Linked DNA regions of Homo sapiens: regions 1 and 3 are each linked to region 2. The links are contacts of gene promoters, found by promoter capture Hi-C in blood cells and fetal thymus (Javierre and others, 2016). All regions are on one chromosome and are shown on one strand. The core of a region is centred on a gene start or on the middle of the fragment in contact, and the rest is flanking DNA. Distances in the headings are between cores, read along the strand shown. Region 1 has its middle 12 kb from the start of TMEM218. Region 2 holds the start of TBRG1 (transforming growth factor beta regulator 1). Region 3 overlaps HEPACAM (hepatic and glial cell adhesion molecule).

Region 1 (4,178 bases), core at 766-3,265, 500 kb after region 2:
AGGAATTTAGACACTATCCTGCAGATTCTGTTGAGCCACTGAAAGATTTTACAAAGGAGGGTATTTATGCTTCATAAAACAAAACAAAACAACAAAAAACCTCTTTTTCCTTGAATCGCTTATCTAGTCTTTGACCTCTGCTTGAGCATGTTCAAGGCTGGGGAGCTCCCAACCCCCCAAAGCTGCCCACTTCACTGTTGGATGACCAGAAATTTTAGAAAGTTCTTTCTTACACTGAGCCAAACTCTGTCTCCTCACAATTCCTACTCTTCCTGTCTAGTTTTACCATTTGTAGCAACACATAAAAGGCCATTTAAAAATACATGAAGACGCCTCTCAAACCTTCCCTTAGTTTTCAGTTTTTCAAGTGTCCAGGTTTCCACAGAGCTCCCTCATTCTTTGTCTATTTCATGGTTTCTAGACTCCTTTACCATTCTAGTCACAGTTTTCTGGATGAACTGTGCTTTATTAATGTATCTTCTAGAATCTTGTGGTAGAATTGCTCATAATACTTTAAATCGGCCCTGAAAGGCAGGAAGTGCAGTGATGCTACTACGATGCTTCTTCTGAGCTGGACGCCTATGACCATTAGTGATTCCAATGTCCTTAGATTGTTACTGGTCACATCTCACTGCTTTTAAAGCTTTTGATTAACCAAAGCATCTAACTCTTCTGCACATTAGTTGCTGCCATGTCAAATCTCCACCATACTTGGTATGTGCAATTTATTTTTTAAATTTACATGTAGGCCTTTACACTTATTTAAATTTTACCTTGTCAGTTGGAGCCCAACATTTGAGGCAGTTAGACTCATCTTTAAAGTCTTATTTTTCTTTCCTATGATATCAGTATGTCTCATTTCACATCTGATAAAAATTCTTTGTATGTTTTAATCCAAGTCACTAATAAAAATGCTGCCTTGGATAGAACTTGGTAGCATTGGAGACCTCCTCCCAGTATGTGTTCAGGCAGCTTCAGTTTTCCTAATGACGCACTGTACAACATTATTCACAATGTTGAAGATTTATTAAACATTCTGTTGAAATCCTGAGAGATTTATTAAATATTCTGTTTAAATGAAGTTACATCATATTTGGTATTTCCTCTCATTCACATCAATAAACATATATTGGTTGGTCTCCTATCTTCTAGGTTCTTTGTTAGGTGTTGTGGAAACAAAAATGACCAAGATATTAGTTTTGTCTTAAAGAGATGACATCTAGCAGAGGCGACAGACATATAAACACCAGATCCAAATTAATACAGGTATAGTTAATGTATGTGTTACCTCTAATTTGCATTAAAGGGATAGATATAGATGATAGATAGAAATATACAATATAATAGATAATGTATCATCTCATATGTATTATATTATACAGTAGCAGTATAAACAAAGTATATTGAAAACCTAGAGAAAAAGGAGATTAATTCTTCATTGTGCAGAAAGAGAAAGGAGGGCTTCACACAAAAAAGTGACATTTGACTGAGCCTTGAAAATACAGAGTTTTTTTTAGGCCGGGCATGGTGGCTCATGACTGTAATCCCAGCACTTTGGGAGGCAGGTGGATCATTTGAGGTCAAGAGTTCAAGACCAGCCTGGCAAACATAGTGAAACCCTGTCTCTACTAAAAACACAAAACAATGAGCCAGGTATGGTGGCATGTGCCTATAATCCCAGCTACTCAGAGGCTGAAGTATGATAATCGCTTGAACCCAGGAGGCAGAGGTTGCAGTGAGCTGAGATCACACCACTGCACTCCAGCCTGGGTGACAGGATGAGACCCTGTCTCAAAAAAAAAAAAAAAAAGAAAGGGAAAGAAAAGAAAATACATAGGGTTTTTGTGAGATAAGTAGAGAATGGAGATAGGAAGAAATTCCAGAGTGGAGAAATAGGAGAAGCAAAGCATAGAAAAGTGAATGTCTTTGGCATGATTCAGAAATAGCAAATATTCTAGTGTGAGTTAAGGACCAGGTTCAGGGAAATGAGTGTCAAGAGCTGAAAAGTGTGTGAAGGGTCTTGAATGCTATGATAAGGAATTTTGGCTTTATTCTGTAGGTGAAGGGTTTAGCTAAGTCAGAAGTATTTAAGCAGGAGAGTAAATAACACAATCAGATTGATCAACTTCATAACTCTATTGCACAAGGAAATAAGTTCAATTTAGCAAAACTTATTCTTAATGAATCCACTTTGGTTCTAGCATGAATTGACCACTAAACATCTGATTAACGAGTACGTCAAACTTTTTGTGTGTGTTTTGCCCTGCTATTATGTTTTTCCTGACTTTCACTTTGACCTGTTGGCCTCTTGGCTTTATTTTTCCCTTAGGCATCTGGGTTCTGCATTCCCTTGATTTATTTGTCCACCCACAGCTTGCTCTGACCTTTATTATTTAACGTGTCCTCTGACTTTGGCTCACTTACTGGATTCTGAGCCACGGCAATTCCTTGACCTCAGTCCTGGATTTGCTTCTGCTTTGGAATTCCCACCTGATTTCAGTTGCCCAATTGTGCTGTGACCTCTGCATTCTGTCCTGCCTTGGATCTAACCTGGTCTCATCCTTTGTGTTGCTGTCTCTGCCTCAGTTCTTCTAGTCTAGCTCCCCAGCCCGCAAGTTATACACACTGTTTGCTCACCTGGGCTCCAGTACTGGCAATAAAATGTAACCTGTCCTTTCTAGAAGCTGTGGTGTGGTTGAAGAGATAGTGCTAACATGCAAGAAATTATAAATTCTAACTGATTGCCAAATTGGACGTGCTAACTGAAAGTGTTATACGAACTTAGAGAAAAGACTGAACTGGGAAATTCAAGACCCTTAGGAGTAATGTTCCTTTCTAGGCAACTTCCTTTCTGAAAGATTTTGCTATCTGGAGCACGGGCTTTTCTTTGGAAGGAGAAAGGGAAATGTAAGGCAGGACTTCCTCTGGACTTTCCTATCATTGGTTCCAAAGCTGCCTATCTTTGAGGAGCTACCTTGTCGGTGCCACCTAGTGGCTGCTGCCACCAGAAATCCTACCCGCCTCAAGGAGAGAGCAATTTAACGCCATTTCCAACTTAAGCACCATATCTACAGGGCGTGAAATTAGTTCCAGCAAGCAGCAAATTTGCTGCTAATAAAAATATTTAGCGATTCACTTGTCTTTAAATCAGCAGCAGAATATTCTTTTACTTGCATCAGTGCTTGTTTCTCCCAATTCTAATATTTGATAATCAAGCTAGACGTGTTTAGCTAAAGCTATGAAACAGCAAGTTCTTCAGTTCTGCAAAAATTTTTTAGTTTCCTGAGCAAGAATTTTTATTTCCTTTTTTCTCTTTGTCAGAAATAGGCCTGGGTGTTCCTTGGATCATAGAGATGGAGCACTTCCACTGATTTCAGAGTCTTAGAAATAAGCTTTCATTCTCTTCTGTCTGCCAACATTAGCTCCTGAGTCACTGCATGTGGATAATCTGGGATGTTACAGGAAGACATGATCTCTAGCTCATGTTTAGACACTTCCTTTTTTTTTTTTTTTTTTTTTGAGACAGGGTCTTGCACTGTCACCCAGGCTAGAGTGCAGTGGCGTGATCTCGGCTCACTGCAACCTCCGCCTCCCAGGTTCAAGCGATTCTCCTGCCTCAGCCTCCCAGGTAGCTGGGACTACAGGCATGTGCCACCACGCCAGGCTATAGACACTTCTTTACTCTGTCTCAGTGCCAAACTCATTTTAGTTCCTTTTCTGTGTCTTTTAGCCTCTACACCAGAGCAAGAGTTCTCTGAATCCCACAGAGATATTGTAGAATGCTAAAACTACTTTTTCATTAAAGTCGACGAGTATTTATTGGGCACTTTCCATGTGCATCCATTGTTCTAGGTCCTGTTTGGGGTCAGAAGTGTTCCAAGAAGCCCAGCATGACAGCCAGATGAGAAACTGACATGGCAGATGACACCTCTTCTCCAGGTTGCTGGAACAGTGGGTCAGATAGACTTCTATGTATTTTTCTTCTCCTTAAGGAGCTCATAGAAGGAACAAAGTGCATCGGACATTCTACCCTTCATCAGTTTATTAGTCTAAGGGTCTCTGTTTGAGCAGATCACTAGTTCCAAAGACCAAATAATCTTTCTTTCTTTTTTTTTTTTTGAGATTGATTCTCCCTCTGTCGCCCAGGCTGGAGTGCAATGGCACAATCTTGGCTCACT
Region 2 (4,153 bases), core at 302-2,801:
CCTTCCCTGAGTGCTGCCAAATAAAATAAAACCTACCTCTGAAACAAACTTATTATACCATATTAACATTGCCAATTTACTTGTCTGTCTTTCCTTCTTAAATTAAGGTTCTTAAAGGTGGTATCATAATAGGCACTAGGTAAATATTCTTCTAAACAAATAAGGACTGAATGAGTTGCTCAGTGGCATGACCTTTGTGGAGCACACATATCCAGCCTCTGAACAGTCCTATATGGAAAAAGCTTTGGACGCAAAGATATGCTTTTAATGGAATTGACCAAAAAGTCAAAGAACATGGAAATAATTATGCAAAATATAATATAGCCATAACTGGAATATTAACCAGCCACTTAAAATTATGCTTATAAGGAAGCTATACTAACATTTGTGAAACTGAAATGATACAATGGTAAATGAACAAAAAGAAAACTTTATTTTCAGTATTGTCTAACCTATACAAAAATGCATAAAATATTAGACACATATACTAACATGGTAAAAGTAGTTCATTCCAAGTGGTAGCATTATGGATTTTTAAACCTTTCTTGTACTATATTTTCTAAATTTCTAAAGTTCGAATGAAATGTTTTGTAAGTGTAAGGAAATGTGTCCAATGAAGAAGAAACAAAAAATATCTTCATGCAAATCCCACTAAAGTCCATTGGCCAAAACAGCCTGCAAACTAGGACAAAGGATAGCACTTTTCTTCCCCCTAGATGTGATACATGTATATGAAAATAAATAATACAAATAAAGTCAGACCCCAAAGCCCGCAAGGACAAAATACAGCAGAACAGCAAATTTTTTTTTTGAGAGAAAAAACTAGAGAGTTACTGAACTAGTTATTGGCATCGCTGGAAGAAGATGCAAGCAAGCCTTCTGCCATCCAGCCTGGGTCACTTACCAATACCGCACCCTAAAGATTTTTCTATCTTCCCTAATTTTAAATAGACCTTGGTTGTAAAGTTAGAACCATATACATGTACATATTATGTACAGAAATACACTTCTGGTTTCACTAGACAAACATTTACTGAGTGCCTACTTAGTGCTAGTATTAAAACTGCGTGTTAAATCTCTCATCTTCCCTACTAGAAAGAGCCAAGGCCTTTCTTCCTGTTCACTACTGTGTTCCCAGCTCCTGGGAAGATGATAGCATTAGGAGGCCCTGCAAACACATTTCTGTGAGCTGCAGAAAGGAACGAAGCAGGGAAAGAAGCAGAGTCCCAGCACTTGGGCTCACTTTGTCCTACAGTCTGGGAAAGCCTGTCTGCACGAAGCATGAAAAACGTATTAAAACGCAGTGGCCCAGCGGGGGAGCGTGAATGAGAGCTCGCATTGGTAAGCTTCTTGTTAGTTCGTTGGTTCAACTATAGTACCCTTCAGCTAAGCACACGGCCGCCGGCCCTCCCTCCTCTCCTCATCCAGCACTAGCCCCCAGCTGTCTCTTTCCTCCCGGTGCCCACGATCGCACCGCCCAGACCACCCTACTCTCCCTGCCCCGGAAGTTACACACTGCCGACACCGGGACGTAACTTCCGGGAAGGGCTTACTTCCAAGACAGACACGGAAGTGCTGGGAGGCGCCGGGAGCCCGTTCGGTTGCGGGTGTCTCTGGCCCTGCGGTCAGCCCTGGGAACGTCCCGGAGAGCTAGATTCCTAGAGGCCCGATTCCGCTAGCCCGGAACAGACAAAGCCAGCGCTCCCGCCCGCTCCCCGACTTAGGATCCGATGCCGGCAGCGTCCTGGGGCCCCCGTAGCGGGGCTGGACCATGAGCCTGCTGGACGGCCTCGCTTCCTCGCCGCGGGCTCCGCTGCAGTCCAGCAAGGCCAGGATGAAAAAGCTCCCGAAGAAGAGCCAGAATGAGAAGTACCGGCTGAAGTACCTGCGGCTGCGCAAAGCGGCCAAGGCCACGGTGTTTGTGAGTCTGACCCACGTTCAGCCGGTCCCCTCCTGGAGACTCCCTCACAAAATCTTTCCCCAAGCTGTTCCCCCTTCCCAGTGTGACAGTATTAATACAGTGTTGGCTTTTCCGTATACGTTACTACTTGTTAGCCTTGTGTCCTTGGACAAATTACGTAATTTCTCTGTGTCCTCATCTGTAAATGAGCTAGTAACTGTCTTGCAGAATAATGAATATTAAATGAGTAAAGAAAAGTGCTTGGTGCGTAAAAGACATACCAATAAATTTTAGTCATCGTTGTTACTGCAGGACTCTAGGAAATGTGTTTGATTCTCGAGATACAGCCCTGAGAATTAGGCATTATTTGTAAAATGAGAACACTGAAGCCCAGAGAGATGATTTGCCCAAGGGTACTGTGTCAGAGCCCTGACTCCAACTTAGATAAACCTGATTCCGTTTTATGACTTCCAGTACACAGACTATTTTCTGAGCACCTCAAATCCCCATAACTGACCCTTTGCCCAAAGAGGTACATGAAACTGTCAGTAATTTCCCCCCTCTAACCTTTGAGTGTTCCAAGTGTTTCTTCCTTTCTTTTATTGTAGAAGCACTGGATTTATTGAGTGAATAAACTTAATATAGCTTGCCAGCCATAACTTTATATTAGAATAGTTTGGCTTGCCTCAGTGCTTGGAAATAGGGGTGGAGTCCTCAAATGTCCCCCCACATCCAAGTCAACAGTTCATCTCTTCTCTCTACCAAAAGCTTGAACGTCTCTCAGCATTTTTGGAAGCATAAGGAAAGGTTCAGAAATTAGAATACACATTCCAAAAGCACTTATTCAGCACTTGCTATGTGTATTGCTTGCTATTTGCACTGGAGAGAAACAAGAAAAGTAAAACTAAGAGAACTTAGCATCTGATTGACTGTTCCCTTTCTTTTATCCCCTATACGTCAAAGGTACCTAAAGCTTGGAATTTATGTTATTTCAAGGATATTGGTTCCATCAAATACATAATGAAGATTTTGTGAAGAAAAAGCGATGTTGTTTTGAACATTGAGAGTTTGAAGTTCCACCTATGGGGGCATTCAGATTCAGCATTCCCTTCAGGATTGGTGCTTGGGAGATAGATTGAGTCATCATTTACAAAAAAAAAAAAAAAAAAAAGAAAAAAGATAATACTTGAATTCGTATAAGTAGATTGTGAAGTTTAAGAATTTTACACACTAAATTTGATTTTGTTCTGTCCAGTTTTTCTCTATTTGGGTTAGACTGGCTTTGTAAGTTTTTCAAGAGTTGAGGCACTTGGGAATAGACAGTTTTCATATTTATAGTATTTAATTTAAGCATATAAGGATTTAAGCAGTATGCCTTTTTCTTTGCCAAAGGCTATACTAATTAGGGTGACCATTAATCTTGGCTTGCCCAGGACAGTCCTGGTTCACCGTATTGTTCTGGCATAAGCATTAATAGTACCCCCTTTTCACTCAAAGATGTCCCGGATTGGATAATAAATTACATAGCTATACCCTGTCCATAGTAGAACCTGACTACCTTTATCTATGGATTTATTTATAGTTTGTCACACGGTCGAATAGCTCCTTCTTCTCAGTAATACAAGCTTTTTTGGTTTGAAATATGGATCCTCTTCCCAGCATAATAATGTGATTTTTTTATTCATTTTATGTTATTATATTCACATTTTTACTTAAAGGAAAATGCTGCTATTTGTGATGAAATTGCTCGTCTTGAGGAAAAATTTCTTAAAGCAAAAGAAGAAAGAAGGTGAGCTGGCTTCATTTTGTGTTCAGCATCACCTTTTTGGTGATTGATTTGGTGATTGATAATGGTGTTACTGCTCTGGAGACTTTTTTTCCCAGTGGGATTGATGCGTATCGCACAGCCCCTTGGCCACTTGATCAAGCACAGAGAAACTTACAGCCTGAGGCATTGGTGCCTGCACACCCAAGTTATGTTGGGCCATGGCGATGAGACAGCTCCTCTACTCATCTTTCTGAAAAAGCCATCTTGCCACATCTAATAAATAATCTTACTAAGATTATTTAATCTTATGGCCCAATTATAAAAGCCAAGTGATAAAAGCAACTGCCTCTCGTTCTACAAATATTTATTCTGTACGTACTATTCTGTGCAAAGCACAATGGGTATATATACATGTGTAAATAATGTGCCTTTCAGAAGCCTAACACCGTCCAACATCAAGGTAGAGGAACCGTCCAGATGCAAGA
Region 3 (4,407 bases), core at 972-3,471, 300 kb after region 2:
ACACGGAGTAGCCGGGCGGGCCGGGCTCCGTCGCGCTTCGAGGCTCCGGGGCCGGGTTCTCCTCGGTCTCCGGGGAGTCCTGCAAGGACACGCGCCGCAGGGGTCAGGGGACAGTCAGCCCAGCCTGGGAGCGCGCCTGGTGTTAGAGCTTGCTGGAATTCCGAGGGGAGGGACCTAGTTTCCCTCTGCACGCCCACCTCCTGGAAGGCTGCAGACAGGTCTGGTTTTCCTGGCGATATTCCACACTGAGCATGGGGCCTCCTAGCACATAATAGGTGTTAAGTAAATGTTGAAATGCGATGATTTGAGTGCTTTTCCCCTTTACTCTCCTCTTTCCACCCGTCGTGGACAGCCTGGGACAGTTAGTTGTGGAATACTGGGGAAATCACCAGAACTGGTGTCCAAAGACCTAGGTTTGAAACCTAGATCTGCCACTCATTGACTTGTTTAATCCTGAGCAAGTCATTTAATCTCACAGCCTTGTTTTTTCTAATCTCTAAAATGTGCATGACACAAATATTTCACAGGGTTATTCTGAGTACTATAAAGCAGGGGTCCCCACCCCCAGGCCGAGGACTGGTACTGGTCCATAGCCTGTTAGGAAGGGAGCGGCAGAGCAGGAGGTGAGCGGTAGGCCAGAGAGCAAAGCTTCATATGTATTTACAGACATGCCCCATGGCTTGCATTATCGCCTGAGCTCCGCCTCCTGTCAGATTCGTGGCTGCATTCGATTCTCGATTCTCGTAGGAGCACACACCCTATTGTGAATTGAGCATGCGAGGGATCTAGGTTGCACGCTCTTTAAGAGAATCCAATGCCTGATGATCTGAAGTGGAACAGTTTCATCCTGAAACCACCCGCATCACCATCCATGGAAAAATTTTCTTCCTTGAAACCAGTCCCTGGTGCCAAAACCGTTGGGGACTGCTGCTATAAAGGGATAGGAATATAGTATGGCTCCCTAGCATCAGGCATGTGGGAGGGGATCACTGCATGTTTCTGGGCACCCAGTCCAGAGCCGCTCACCTTGTCCTTCAGGATATAGAGTGCCATGGGGTTCTTCCGTTCCTGCTCACCACTTCGAGGGAGGGTGTCTGCTGCACAGGGGAGAGAAGCGGGTGGCTGGCCCAGGTACAGACTCTCCCCACCAGCCGGCACCTACTCTCTGTGCTTCCCGAATGGCCCGCCACAACCTCCACCAACATATCTGAATATCCTGGCTCCTACCTTGGCCAAACCTTTCCCTCCTCTGCAGTCTTCGTGCAGTTGGTGGGGGAAGGGTCCCTGCAGAGCTGTTTTCCTTGTCGCCCAGTTCTGCCTTTTCCCAGCAGCCCACTGATCTGATTGTTGATGGGATGGGTGATTGGGTGGCTGGGAGCTCACCTTCTGGTTTCAGGCGGTCATCATTCTGATCCATGTATTCCAGGGAGTTTTGCTTTTCTAGCTTCTTCTGTTTCCTGTGAATCAATTCAGCCCCACTATGAGCCGAATTATTGAATGTGAGTAGAAGATCCAGTGGGGACACAGGGAGGGATCTGATGGCCATAAAAGAGGCCTTGTGACAGGAAGATGGGCTGGGTACAGTTCATGAGCTTTGGAAGGAATCACATCTAGGTTTGCACCTTGAGTCTGTCACTAGCGTTGTGACTGTGGGCAAGTCATTTAACCAATCCGAGTCTCAGTGTCATTATCTGTAAACTACAGATAATCATACTTAAAAGGTAGCAGGCTAACCACAGCCACAGTGCCTGGTCCCAAAAAAGGTGGTTGGCCAGTGAAAAAACCTATTGTTACTGGTGCTGGGGTTGTGGGGGCTTTGGAGCACAAGATGCTGGTGCATACACAATGGAAGAATGGATCTCTCGGAAAGAGATGCAAAACCCTGGGAGGAAAGGCATTTAAAGAGACTTAAGAAAATAATGGGGCTTAGGTTTGGGATGGATTGAAGGACTCAGGTGCTCAGGAGAGTTACCCAGACCTTTTGGAGGGTTTCCAGCAGGCACAGACTGTCACCAAGGTCACAAGGAGGAAGATGCCTCCTGTAGACAAGATGATGTAAAGGGAGCTTCTTCCTAGGGAGAGAGAGAAGCAGAGAGGCAGGAGGGACTTCAAAGGGGCAAGATGTGGTGAGCAGAACTTCCTGCCATGGATGGAAGAGAGGGGGAGCCCCAGGCTGCATGCCTGGCTGATGCTGGTGGTGGAGCTTGTACAGAACCCACTGGCTACCTGTTGGTGTCCTCCATGGATAGTTGGCCCATCTCTGTTCCCCTCCCCCCAGTGACATTTCTTTGGGATGTCCTCAGTCCCTCATGGTCACCTGCCTCTTGGGGCTTTGAGTACTAAAGGAAAGCCTGCGGGGAAACTCACTGTATACGGTGATCTTGACAGGCAGGCTGCGGCCCTGGCTGATGGGGTTCTCCACCATGCAGCTGTACAGGTCGTCATCCTCCATGAGCACGCGGGTGATGGTGAGCACCTTTTGGTCGGGGGACAGGAGCATTCTCGAGTCATTGAGGAGGGGCTTGCCATCCTTCAGCCAGGTGTAGCTGGGCTTGGTGCCATTCTCATGTGAGCAGTTCAAGGTGAAGGCCTCGCTGAGCTCCAGCACAGTGGTTGAAGCCACCAACACCTGTGGCCTCGAAATGGGCACTGAGCCGCAGGAATGGGGGAGCCTGTAAGTCATTGGCTAAGAAGTGTCTCCCTTCCCCTTTTTAGCTCCCTGCCTTCCAACACACCTTTAACACTACCTTCCAACTCAATCTGTGGGCTGAGAAGACTTCAGACATCCTAAGTCCAGTTCTTTCCCATCGCTTATTCATTCGTTTCACTGACTATTTATGGAGCACCAATTAGGCATGGCGGGTACAATGCTGAACAATGCAGACATGGTGTTGCCCTCATTCCCTCTTTCCAAATGCCTTGCCATGAACCCTGGGCTTTAATGTCTTAAACTGACCCAGCCAGGAAGATATTTCAGTTGGGCTAAGCCTAGGTCCAACTGTTTAGGTTCAAATCTTGGCTCTATCACTTCTAGCTGTGTGACCTTGGGCAAGTTATTCAACCTTTCAGTGGCTCACTTTCCTCATCTGCAAAATTAGGATAATGATATGAACTATCACCAGACTATTATAAGCATTAAATGAGTCAACATATGCAAAGCACTTAGAATAGTTTCTGGCACATGGCAATCACTCTACATGTTAGCTGTGCTGTGCCTGTCTGCCAACTTCTAATGTCCACTTGCCTCATTCTCAGCTCCCAAGTGCCTTTTGGGTTGGTTTTCCCTCAGTCTAGCTGGTGCGCTGGGCAGACCTTTCCCTAGTCCCACCTGCCAGTCTTGCCTCTTTCCCTGCCAGAGCGCTTTACCATCTACAGTAAGGTTGATGGTCTTCTCCCCAGTGAAGGTGTCGTCGGTGATGGAGATCTCGACCTCATAGGTGCCCTCATCGGCCAGCTGCAGGTCGCTGAGAAGCAGGGAGCCATTTTCAAAGAGTCGGATACGGTCTCGATAGTCAGGCCGCAGGGTGCCGATGACCTCTGTGCCAATGGACTGCACCACGGTCACTGGCTTGTCCCGCTTCAGCTGCCACTTCACTACAGGCCTGTCGCTGCTGGTACTGCTGTACTGCACAGAAAGCAGAGCCGACTTCCCCACGGTGCCATGGATCAGGCGCACGGGGCTGGTGATGTTCACCCCCTCCAGGGGGTCTGTGAACAGAGGCCCATGAGGAAGAGGGAAGCATCAGGCCCTGGGCTCCTTAGCCCACTCCCAACTTTAAGCCCTCTGATCTCCCAAAGCTTCGCCTCTCTGGCTCTTCACTCCCTGCCAATCCTGGCTTCTTAAGCCTGGGTGCTATCTCCTCCCCCACAGTAGCTCTGTGCACTTCTGCCCCTTTGTTCTCTCTCACAGCCATCTCATGGCCTTCAATGCTTTTTCCACCTAGCCCTCTGCCTCTCTGGCACTTTGTCTATTGCCTTTCTCTTGTGGCTCACCCACACCCTATGCGCTCCATTCATAAAAATATTTATTGAACATCTCCTATCTGCCAGACACTTTTCTATGTCTTTAGGATATAGCAATGAGCAAAGCCAACAAAAATCCCTACCCCTATGAAGCTTATAGGTCATTAGACCTCTGGGTGAATTTGTCAGATCTTCTTGATTGGGGATTGGGAGGGTGAGGAGATGGAGAAAGCATGGAACACAGATTCACAAAGAAAGGAGCGGGTCGTGAGACAGTGCCAGTAAAGGGAAAGTTTAGGGGCCTGAAGACCACTTTCTAGTTATACCGAGAGCCTCTTCCCGTTTTTTTTGCAGATGCATGTAGCATCTTACTAGGCTCACTCAGTGCAGAATAGTCCTGCAACTAGTAAGGTGGTTTTGGGAATTCACCCAAACTCCAGCCCA

The links. Contacts are between HindIII fragments. The CHiCAGO score rates a contact against its expected background, and 5 or more counts as called.
Region 1: a fragment that was not itself captured here is called in contact with the fragment with the promoter of TBRG1 in region 2 in 1 of 17 cell types (naive CD4 T cells); the score reaches 5.5 in naive CD4 T cells.
Region 3: a fragment that was not itself captured here is called in contact with the fragment with the promoter of TBRG1 in region 2 in 1 of 17 cell types (naive CD4 T cells); the score reaches 5.1 in naive CD4 T cells.

The regions. Positions count from the first base shown.
Region 1 is chr11:125,121,377-125,125,554 of GRCh38, forward strand. No RefSeq gene overlaps it. Among named protein-coding and RNA genes, the nearest start is that of TMEM218, 12 kb to the left of the region's middle. The HindIII fragment of the contact is 2,749 bases long and covers 642-3,390 here.
Region 2 is chr11:124,621,313-124,625,465 of GRCh38, forward strand. TBRG1 (transforming growth factor beta regulator 1) reads left to right here and starts at 1,552. Exons shown (of 9, transcript NM_032811.3): 1 at 1,552-1,921; 2 at 3,619-3,689. The coding sequence starts at 1,772. LOC124902779 (a long non-coding RNA gene) reads right to left here and starts at 1,889. Exons shown (of 2, transcript XR_007062932.1): 1 at 1-1,889. RefSeq lists an enhancer at 1,629-1,698. The HindIII fragment of the contact is 1,322 bases long and covers 1,345-2,666 here.
Region 3 is chr11:124,921,362-124,925,768 of GRCh38, forward strand. HEPACAM (hepatic and glial cell adhesion molecule) reads right to left here. Exons shown (of 7, transcript NM_152722.5): 2 at 3,367-3,708; 3 at 2,368-2,649; 4 at 1,979-2,072; 5 at 1,384-1,457; 6 at 1,027-1,097; 7 at 1-79. All of the region lies in intron 1 of LOC107984406 (a long non-coding RNA gene), which reads left to right. Among named protein-coding and RNA genes, the nearest start is that of HEPN1, 4.3 kb to the left of the region's middle. The HindIII fragment of the contact is 3,150 bases long and covers 647-3,796 here.